Linked DNA regions of Homo sapiens: region 1 is linked to region 2. Evidence: promoter capture Hi-C in human tissues and cell types (Jung and others, 2019). All regions are on one chromosome and are shown on one strand. Each heading gives the region's core, a stretch centred on a gene start or on the middle of the fragment in contact. The rest is flanking DNA. Distances are from core to core; before and after follow the strand shown.

Evidence for each region. The method cuts DNA at HindIII sites, captures the fragments that hold promoters and counts their contacts. A contact is called where the count stands out against the background at its distance.
Region 1: a contact is called between a fragment that was not itself captured here and the fragment with the promoter of CYP3A5 in region 2, in 5 of the 25 tissues and cell types used here (IMR-90 fibroblasts, dorsolateral prefrontal cortex, liver and 2 more).

Annotation. Positions count from the first base shown.
Region 1 is chr7:99,727,147-99,731,973 of GRCh38, forward strand. It overlaps CYP3A7-CYP3A51P (CYP3A7-CYP3A51P readthrough), which reads right to left. Exons shown (of 15, transcript NM_001256497.3): 2 at 3,913-4,006. It overlaps CYP3A7 (cytochrome P450 family 3 subfamily A member 7), which reads right to left. Exons shown (of 13, transcript NM_000765.5): 2 at 3,913-4,006. It also overlaps a transcript of ZSCAN25 not described here. Among named protein-coding and RNA genes, the nearest start is that of CYP3A7, 5.6 kb to the right of the region's middle. The HindIII fragment of the contact is 5,911 bases long and covers 1-4,827 here.
Region 2 is chr7:99,677,617-99,682,815 of GRCh38, forward strand. CYP3A5 (cytochrome P450 family 3 subfamily A member 5) reads right to left here and starts at 2,380. Exons shown (of 13, transcript NM_000777.5): 1 at 2,210-2,380. The coding sequence starts at 2,280. It also overlaps a transcript of ZSCAN25 not described here. RefSeq lists promoters at 2,300-2,465, 2,333-3,071. The HindIII fragment of the contact is 4,941 bases long and covers 1-3,350 here.

The DNA.
Region 1 (4,827 bases), core at 844-3,343, 49 kb after region 2:
CCCAACTCTTTTCATTACACACAGCCAAAGTGCAGGGCTGTGCAGCTGGAATTCTTACACAAGGACTGGGACCGTGCTCTGTAGCCTTTTTGTCCAAACAACTTGACCTTACTGTTTTAGGCTGGTCATCATGTCTCTGTGCAGTGGCTGCCACCACCCTAATACTTTTAGAAGCCCTCAAAATCACAAACTATGCTCAACTCACTCCATACAGTTCTCATAACTTCCAAAATATATTTCCTTCCTCACACCTGATGCATATACTTTCTGTTCCCCAGCTCCTTTAGCAATACCCACTCTCTGTTGAGTCTCCCACAATTACCATTGTACCTGGCCTGGGCTTCAGTCTGGCCTCCCACATTATTCCTGATACCACACCTTATCCCCATGACTGTATCTCTCTGATCCATCTGACATTCACTCTATTTCCCCATATTTCCTTCTTTCCTGTTTTTCACCTGAATCACAGTTAGTTTATTGATGGCAGTTCCACCAGGCCTAATCACCACTCACCAGCAAAGGCAGGCTGTGCTATATTATCTTCCACATCTATCATTGAGGCTACTGCTCTGCCCCCCTCCACTATCTCTCAGCAAGCCAAACTCATTGCCTTAACTTGGGGCCTCACTCTTGCAAAGGGACTACACATCAATATTTATACTGACTCTAAATGCTGTCCATATCCTGCACCACCATGCTGTAATATGGGCTGAAAGAAGTTTCTTCACTATGCAAGTGTCCTCCATCATTAATGCCTCTTTAATAAAAATTCTTCTCAAGGCCACTTTACTTCCAAAAAAAGCTGGAGTCATTCACTGCAAAGGCCATCAAAGGGCCTCAGACCCCATTGCTCAAGGCAACAATTATGCTGATAAGACAGCTAAAGAAGCAACCAGTATTCCTACTTCTGTCCCTCATGGCCAGTTTTTCTCCTTCTCATCAGTCACTCCTATTTACTCTCCCACTGAAGTTTCCATCTATCAATCCCTCCCCACTCAAGGAAGATGGTTCTTAGACCAAGAAAAATATCTCCTTCCAGTCTCACAGGCCCATTCTATTCTGTTGTCATTTCATGACCTCTTCCATGTAGGTTACAAGCAACTAGCCCCCTCCTAGAACTTCTCATTTCCCTTAAGACATTTGCCCTGTATTTCACTCCATTCTTGGCTACCTTCCCCTTGTTCTTCAGACTCTCCTCCCATTCCCCCTTCTTGTTTACTTATACCGAACCCCATGAATAGCAATGAAAGTTTGGTTGTAGACACTATGCTCTTTCTCATACCCAGTTGCCCCATCAATCCCCATTATGACCACTAAGGGCTGATGCCCTCACTAAATCCCTAAGAGTCTGGGTGCAAGACACCTCTTTTGGCACTCCCTCTCATCTTTTCACTTTGCATTTCCAGTTTTGCCTCACACAAGGCCTCTGCTTCCTCTGTGGCTCCACCACGTACATATGTCTATCTGCTAATTGGACAGGTACATGTACACTAGTATTTCTTATTCCCAAATTGAAAAAATTCAATTTGCAAATGGGACTGAACAACTTCCTGTCCCCCTCATGACACCAACCAGACAAAAATGAGTTATTCCTCTAATCCCTCTACTTGTAGGGTTAGGACTTTCTGCTTCCACTATTGCCCTTGGAGCTGGAATAGCAGGTATTTCAACTTCTGTCACAACTTTCTGTAGCCTTTCTAATGACTTTTCTGCTAGCATTACAGATACATCACAAACTTTATCAGTCCTTCAGACCCAGGTTGACTTCTTAGCCCTAGTCGTCCTCCAACATCGCTGAGGCCTTGACCTACTCACTGCTGAAAAAGGAGTACTCTATATTTTTAAATGAAGAATGTTGTTTTTATCTAAACCAATCTGGCCTGGTATATGACAATATAAAAAAGCTTAAAGATAAAGACCAAAAACTCACCAGCCAGGCAAATACTTATTTTGGACCCACCTGGACACTTTCTAACTGGGTGTCTTAGCTCCTCCCTATTCTTAGTCCTCTGGTACCTGTTTTTCTCCTTCTGTTATTCGGGACTTGTGTCTTCAATTGGTTTCTCAATTAATATAAAAACACATTCAGACTATCACCAATTATTCTATACAACAAATATTACTTTTAACAAGTCCATGGTACCATCCTCTGCCCCAAGATCTCCCCACAGCCTAAATTCCTATTCCTTGTAACTCATTATAAAATTTTCTTTAAGGTGTCCACATGGCCCATAATCCCGCTTGAAGCAGCCCTGAGAAACATCATCCATTATCTCTCCATACCACCCCCCAAAAATTTTTGCTGCCCCAACACTTTGCCACTATTTTGTTTTATTTTTCTTAATATAAAAAGACAGGAATGTCAGGCCTCTGAGCCCAAGCCTGCACGTGTACATCCAGATGGCCTGAGGCAACTGAAAACTGCAAAAGAAATGAAACAGCCAGCTCCTGTCTTAACTGATTGAGCAATCTTACGACATTCCATTATGACTTGTTCCTGCCCTGTCCCAACTGATTGATCAATCAACCTGGTGACATTCTTCTCTGCACAATGAGTCTTATGATCTCCCCACCATGCACCTTGTGGCCCCCTCCACTGCTGACAATGGATAACCACCTTTAACTGTAACTTTCCACTGCTTACCCCACTCCTATAAAACTGCCCCACCCCTATCTCCCCTTGCTGACTCCTTTTTCAGACTCAGTTGGCCTGCACCCAAGTGATTAAAAACATTTATTGCTCACACAAAGCCTGTTTGGTGGTCTCCTCACACGGACGCATGTGAAAGTAGGGAAATTATTGCTTTTGCAGAGGGAAAAAATATGAAATTCCTGGGCAGTAATTAGACAACAAAGCCCTCACTTAGGAGAACTAGAATCTGAGAAACAAGCCTCAGGTATGCAGGTCAGATTGTCTAAGCCAGAGAGCTGACTCCTGCTGCTGCTGGCCCTGTGGAAATAAGCTCATAATTTTCCATCCAGGGACCAGGCCCTGAACACAGCATCAGATAAGGTTAGGCACAAAGGCTCGACCAAAGTCCCCAGTCCATGAGGCACATATGACATTCTATTTAGTGAAATTAAATATTCAATAATTTTGTCAAATCATCCCCTTTCTAGTGATTTTGCATGTGATTCTGCCTTTGTGTAAAAAATAAACCCATGAATTCATATTGTGCTTAAATATCTGAGGTTAATAGACAACCACTATCTCATCTCAGTTACATCCACTCCCTGCTCAGACTCACCCACAAGACGCAGCCTTCAAAGGAAAAGAAGTAAAGCAGAACACTTTTGTTCTGTGTCTCAAAGTGGCAACAGATGTCATGGGGAGTAAGACCTGGGTTAAAGCCATGGAAATTCCCCAACAAAATTTGGCATTTTTTGAAGAGGCTTCAAGCAGGTGCAAATGACCCAATGGTAAATACTTGATCTCCCTAATAAACTGAGTTTCCAAGCTGTGCAGGAGGAAGGGAAAAAAGCCTATTCATGAGCTCTTGCTACAGAGAGGAAAGTTTTACTCTCATGTCCACAGATAACAAGCCACAATCAGGGGCTCCTGTTCCTACTTTTAATACTAACTAAGTATGGCTGTACCTTCCTGGGAACCTGCCTGGAGCAAAAAGGAAATGCTCTTTATGGTGCTCACAAAGTCTGCACATCAAGTTGTGAACATCAGATTGCTGGATCTACTTGACATTTGGGCTGTCCAACTGAGGCAAACTTGAGGTTCCTGAGAGTTAGCAAGAGAGCCCCAGGGTAAACTTTGCCACGCTCTGGGTGATGCCTACACGCTATTTCTGAAAGTATAAAATCTCAGACCTTCCTCTTGAGGAGAAGCATTTTTACTGATGGAACTAAGTTGCTCTTTGCAATCATAAGAAGCAAAAGAGGAAGCTCAAAAACACTCACCTTACGGAAGGACAAAGCATTTCCCAAAAAAGGCAGAGGTGTGGGCCCTGGAATTCCAAGCTTCTTAAAAAGTCCATGTGTACGGGTTCCATATCTACAAAGTGAAACAAAAATCAGGTCTCAGGGATTGTGACTTTATAGATATAGGGGCTGGTGAGTCACTGACTGAGGAACTGGAATGATCAGGCAAAGGAGGTAACATTAAGGCAATAAAAAATAACAGTAACTCTGACGGCAATGATTATATTTGTTCATCAGGTCCTTTCATGCTTCCACCATGAGACACCAAAAAGTTACAATGATTAGCTAAAAGCAGCTGAAGTCTTCATGGCCCCAGTCTGGGATGAATATTTGATAAATGTTCTCAAATGTGAATGATCCTGAGAGGTTCAGGAACGAATTCTTCCAGGCACTTCATTCCCTCATGTCTTTTTAGTAAGTGGACTCTTCCCTGATTTTGGGATTCTCATCCTAGGTAGAAAGAGTGACAATTTTTCTTTTGTCTTCTGCAGTGATGATGAGATTTTGCATCACTGCATCCACTCAGTCACAGGGGGTCACTGAGAGCCTATGGTGACCCTGTCTTTAGAATTTGCTCAGAGGCTTTTAAGCTTTCCCTTCACTCTAAGCTCTGACCCTGTTTTAGGATCTGGCCCTTCTTAAACTGTCATTCACAGAGAGGTCTTGGAGGAGTCACAGAGTCCTTATTTCTACAGATTGACAACTGTGCTCCAGGCTTCCATTGGCCTCGTAGAAGTGCGAGCACCTTTTAGCTACACCTCAGTCTCTGTGGTCAGAGGATCTGATTGATTTGAGCTATTGGGGAGGATGATTGACTCATATTTTCCTGAATGACACTGTGCAGAAGAATCACAACTAAGAACAAGGACATTCCTCCTCTTGTGGAATCTAGCC
Region 2 (5,199 bases), core at 1,130-3,629:
AAATTACATGAAGGGCAGGGTTTGGAGGACTCAGCAGGGGCAGCATGAGCAGGCCCAGTCATACATTTGGTTCCCTGCCCCAGAACAGTTAGTGGAAGTGCGTGCACCACCTGCCAAAGCCAGGGTGGCCTTGGGTATTCCCACTTCAGTTCCCTCCTTTGTTGTCACAGCCATGTCAAATCAATGACACTAATCTCTGCTCCTGAACTTTAAACACATTACCTGACCTCTCAGGTGAGGACAAGCTATTGAGTTAATGTGTCAGCAGCATTGGCCCCCAAGGAAAGATCTTGGTGAGTGTCTAGATTCACATGGTACCATGTCAAGGCAGATGCTGTGCTGGGCGAACTCTTTAGTTTCTTTCCAGCTCCCCTCTGGTAGAGTAATGCAGCCTTTGGGTCCAGTGAAGAGACTAACAGAAAAGCCAGTCATCTATTGCATGTAATTGTGTTGGCCTAAGGAGGGCCTGGTCTACACTGCATTTTCTGACTCCTGGGCTGCACCAGCATTGTCTAAGGCTAAGGCATTGTCTGCCTGGCTGCCCGAGTCTGTAGTGACCGGCCCACAACATGGCAGACCACACACAGAGTGACACAGATGGTGCCCCTGTGTCCAGGCTTGAAGCAGATGAGATGCCAACCTGTTTGCCCTTTGAGTGACCTCCACGGTGGGGCCAGGACCCATGAATATCTCTTTGGAGTTCTACCCTGAGAGCTGAGGAATATTTTCTCACTTCATATGGATCCTACCTGGAAGCCTTTGCTATCGTCACTGGCTCACAGTCTTGCTTACTCCCCTGTCCTGAGAGTTTAAGACAATCTGCTAAGCAGGTATATTCGAAAAGGAGTTATTAAAATAAATGGCCGGACAGGTATATTTGAAAAGACGTGCAGTCTTGTCTTAGAGGTATACATTTGTGCATTAGACTCATATTCCTGACATTCAGGAAAGGTGACATTATTTTACACACACTTATTGTCACAAATACTGAACTAACAGCCCTGTTTTACCATCCAGAAGGAACATGCTGGAAATAGTCTATCTCCAAAAAATTCTGGTTTAAAAATGAATGAATTTAAACCATATCAATTCATTTAAAAATGTTAGACAATGGAAACCATGTTGCCACAACTCACTGAATTCCTAAGCTTTCTGTGAAAGAATTAAAATGAGGTTTATAGTGTCTATTTTCATGTCATTGTGGTTCCCTGCTCTTAATAAAAGTCAAATTGAGGTAGAAGTTAATGGGACAGGTGGAGCCTCCACTACCCACAGTGGAAAGTAACTCTTCTCTCCACCTGCTCTAGGATGCCAGGAATCCCACCAGTGAGAGGGTTTGCCCTCCTGTACTGTAACATAAAGGGGAAAAATATGTAAAATCCAAATTGGCTTTCATGGCTCCTGCCTTTTCAGGCTGCTAGTAGATTCCCATTAGGTGAGAAACAAAGCTCTATATTAATCCTAGCCTCCCAGAGACGGGAGGAAAAAGATTAAAGCAAAGAATAAATCCTCGAAACTTCCTCCAGGTCTCCTTTGCTCTAGAGGTTAATCATTGCAAGATAAACCATCCTGTGTATGACAGGGTGGAGGAGTGACTCATAGGAGGGAGGGGATTTTCAGGGGCATGGCACAGGAAAGAGGGAAGAGCCAGGGGACAGCTTCCCATGAAGTCTTGGTGTCCCCTGGTGCGTTATGTAAATGATATCCTGGGTTGGAAGGCGGGGGAGCAGGAACCAGGTCTACAGGGGCAATACAGCTACACATCCCTTCCAGCAGACACAGAACCCAGAAAGCGAATTAATGAGACAAAAATGCAAGCCACTCCTTCCTGTACCCAGAATCCCCAGAGCCTGGGAAGGGGATGAGGATCACACTGTCCATCATGATCAGCAGTTTGTAATCTGCCGCTGCCATGTTTTCATTGATTAGTCTTCGTCAGATCTAAGCTAATCAAATCATTCCCACTACCAAATGCTGTCCCTAAACCCTCCTAGTCACCAAAATTAGAAGGTGGATGGGAGAAATGCTTATTTATTCATTCATAGATCTGCATAAGATAATAATAACTTCTATGCGTTTGTAGCGTCCAACACTTCAGCTACTTCTCCTTGAACATCTCTTTTGATCTTCAAAACAGATAAGGGAAAAGGGGCCCGATTAGCACCCCAAGTCCAAGGAAACAAAGAGAGGAGTTTGGACAGTTACTCACAGATAGAGGAGCACCAGGCTGACAGCCAGGAGAAGCCAGGTTTCCACCGCCAAATTTGGGATGAGGTCCATCGCCACTTTCCTTCTTCAACTGTGTTCTGTGAGTCTTCCTTTTAGCTGAGTGCTGCTGTTTGCTGGGCTGTTTGCCTGGAGCTTCCCTGCCCTGCACAGCAGTCTTCAGCCAAGCTGCTGAAAGATTTATGTGCTGGAGAAGGAGGCAGGGCTATAGCTGCAGCCAATAGCAAAGAATCGCACACACCCCTTTGCTGACCTCTTTTGAGTTCATGTTCTATGAGGAATCATGAAAAGCTTAATCAGTGTTATCGGGGAGTCCAAGGGTTCTGGGTTCTTATCAGAAACTCAAGTGGAGCCATTGGCATGAAATCTATTAACCCTCCTCTCACCTGCCCCTCCATGGCTGCCTTCATTCTAGAATAATTGAAATCCATCCTCACAAGCCACACCTACACATCTTTACCCACGAAATTCCCTCTGCCTGGAGTGTACCTGTGCCCTCTAGATGACTCCTACGTATCCTTCCAAGCCCAGCCAGACAGACCCCTTCTGCTAAAATTTTTCCTTACCAACCTCCTCACACAAATGTAACCATTTCCTCCTCTGGGTGCCTCCTATCCCCCTCACACAGTCCTATTGTCCTCTTTTCTCTCTACCACCATTGTAAGTTTCTATGCCTGTTTCCCTTAGCAGAGGTGAGCTCCTCAAGGGCACAGTCTGGTATTATTTACTTTCATGACCCTGGTTCCTAGCAGGGTACTGTACACATGGTGGGTAACCAGGAATGTTGGTGGAGTTGTCTTGGGTGAGATTGCTGGGCGTCTCATCCCCTCTGACTCTGTGGTGATAGCAATAGACTAATGGTTGCTTGGGACTCAAATGCAGCCACACTGTGTCCCAACTAATAAAGTTGGTCTTGTTCTGCAAAGGAAAATAATAGAAATCATGTTCTGCCACTTAATTCCTCATAAGGTAACATAACATGAAGAGACTTACCTGTTGAGAGTTGTACTGAATCTGTCAAGGAAGATACTGTGTATCAGAAGAACACCCAACCAGTTTGTGCCTCTCATCTATTCATTCCTGTATTAAAGCATTCATGATGTATTTTAAAAGCTGTGCTCCCAGTACTTGGGTACAACACTGACTAAGGCCCAGACATTAGCTCAGTTGTTTTGATTTGTAGATCCCACAAGTATGTGAGAACTTGCAATATCTGTGTTTCTGTGCCTGGCTTATTTCACTTAACATGATGACCTCCAGTTCCATCCATATTATTACAGATAACAGGATCTCATGCTTTTTTCATGGCTGAATTGTGCTCCATTGTGTATAATTGGAGTACTTTCTTTATCCATTCATCTGTTGATGGACACTTAGGTTGCTTCCAAATCTTGGCATTTGTGAATAGTGGCTATTGTGAATATTGGAGTGATGTTATCTCTTCAATATATGATTTCCTTTCTTCCAGGTATATACCCAGCATGGGGATTTCTGGATATTGTGGTAGCTCTATTTAATGTTAATTTTAATGTTTTGAGGAACCTCCAAATTGTTCTCTATAGTGGTTGCACTAATTTACACCAACAGTGTACAAGGGTTCCCTTTTCTCCACATTCTCGCTGGCATTTGTTGTTGCCTGTCTTTTGGATAAAAACCATTTTAGCTGGGGTAAGATGATATCTCATTGTGGTTTTGATTTGCATTTCTCTAATGACCAGTGATGTTGAGCACCTTATCATATGCCTATGTGGCATTTGTATGTCTTCTTTTGAAAAATGTCTATTCAAATTTTGCCCATTTTTTGATTGGATTATTAGATTTTTCCTTACAGAGTTGTTTGAGCGCTTCATGTATTCTGGCTATTAATCTGTTGTCAGAGTGTGACTTTGAAAATATTTTCTCCCATTCTGTGGTTTGTGTCTTCACTTTGTTGATTGCTTTCTTTGTGGTACAGAAGCTTTTTAACTTGATCTGATCCATTTGTCCATTTTTGCTTTGGTTGCCTGTGCTTGTGGGGTAGTTCTTCAGAAAGTTTTGCCCAGACCAATATCCTGAAGAGTTTCCACAATGTTTTCTTGTAGCAGTTTCATCGTTTGAGGTCTCAGATTTCAGTTTTGTTTTTTGTTTTTTTGTTTTTTGTTTTTCTGACAGAGTCTCACTCTCTTGCCCAGGCTGGGGTGCATTGTCATGATCTCAGCTCACTGCCACCTCCGCCTCCTGGGTCCAAGTGATTCTGCCACCTCAGCCTTCTGTGTAGCTGGGACTACAGGCACGCACCAGCATGTCCAGCTAACTCTTGTATTTTTTGGTAGACATGTGGTTTCACCATGTTGGCCAGGCTGGTCTTGAACTCCTGACCTCAAGTGATACACCCGCCTCGGCCTCTCAAAATGCTGGGATTACAGGCATGAGCCACGGCACTCAGCCAGGTTTCAGTCTTTCGTCCACCTTGATTTGATTTTTGTGTCTGGTGAGATACAGGGTTCTAGTTTCATTATTCTGCATGTTAAAATCCAGCTTTCCCAGCACCAGAAGAGACTGTCTTTTCCCCCAGTGTATGTTCTTGACAACATTGTTGAAAATGAGTTCACCGTAGGTGTGTGGAATTGTTTCTGGGTTCTCTATTCTATTTCATTGGTCTGTGTCTGTTTTTATACAAGTACCATACTGTTTTGGTTATTATACCTCTGTAGTATAATTTGAAGTCAGGTAATATGATTCCTCCAGTTTTGTTCTTTTTGCTGAAGGTAGCTTTCGCTATTCTGGGTCTTTTGTGGTTCCATACAAATTTTAGGGTTTTTTTTTTTCTATTTCTTTGAAGAATGCCATTGGTATTTTGAGAGACTGCATTGAATCTGTGCATTGCTTTGGGTAGTATGGACATTTTTAACAATATTAATGCTTACAATATATAAACATGGAATATCCTTCTTTTTTGTGTCTTCTTCAATTTCCTTCATCAGTGTTTTACAA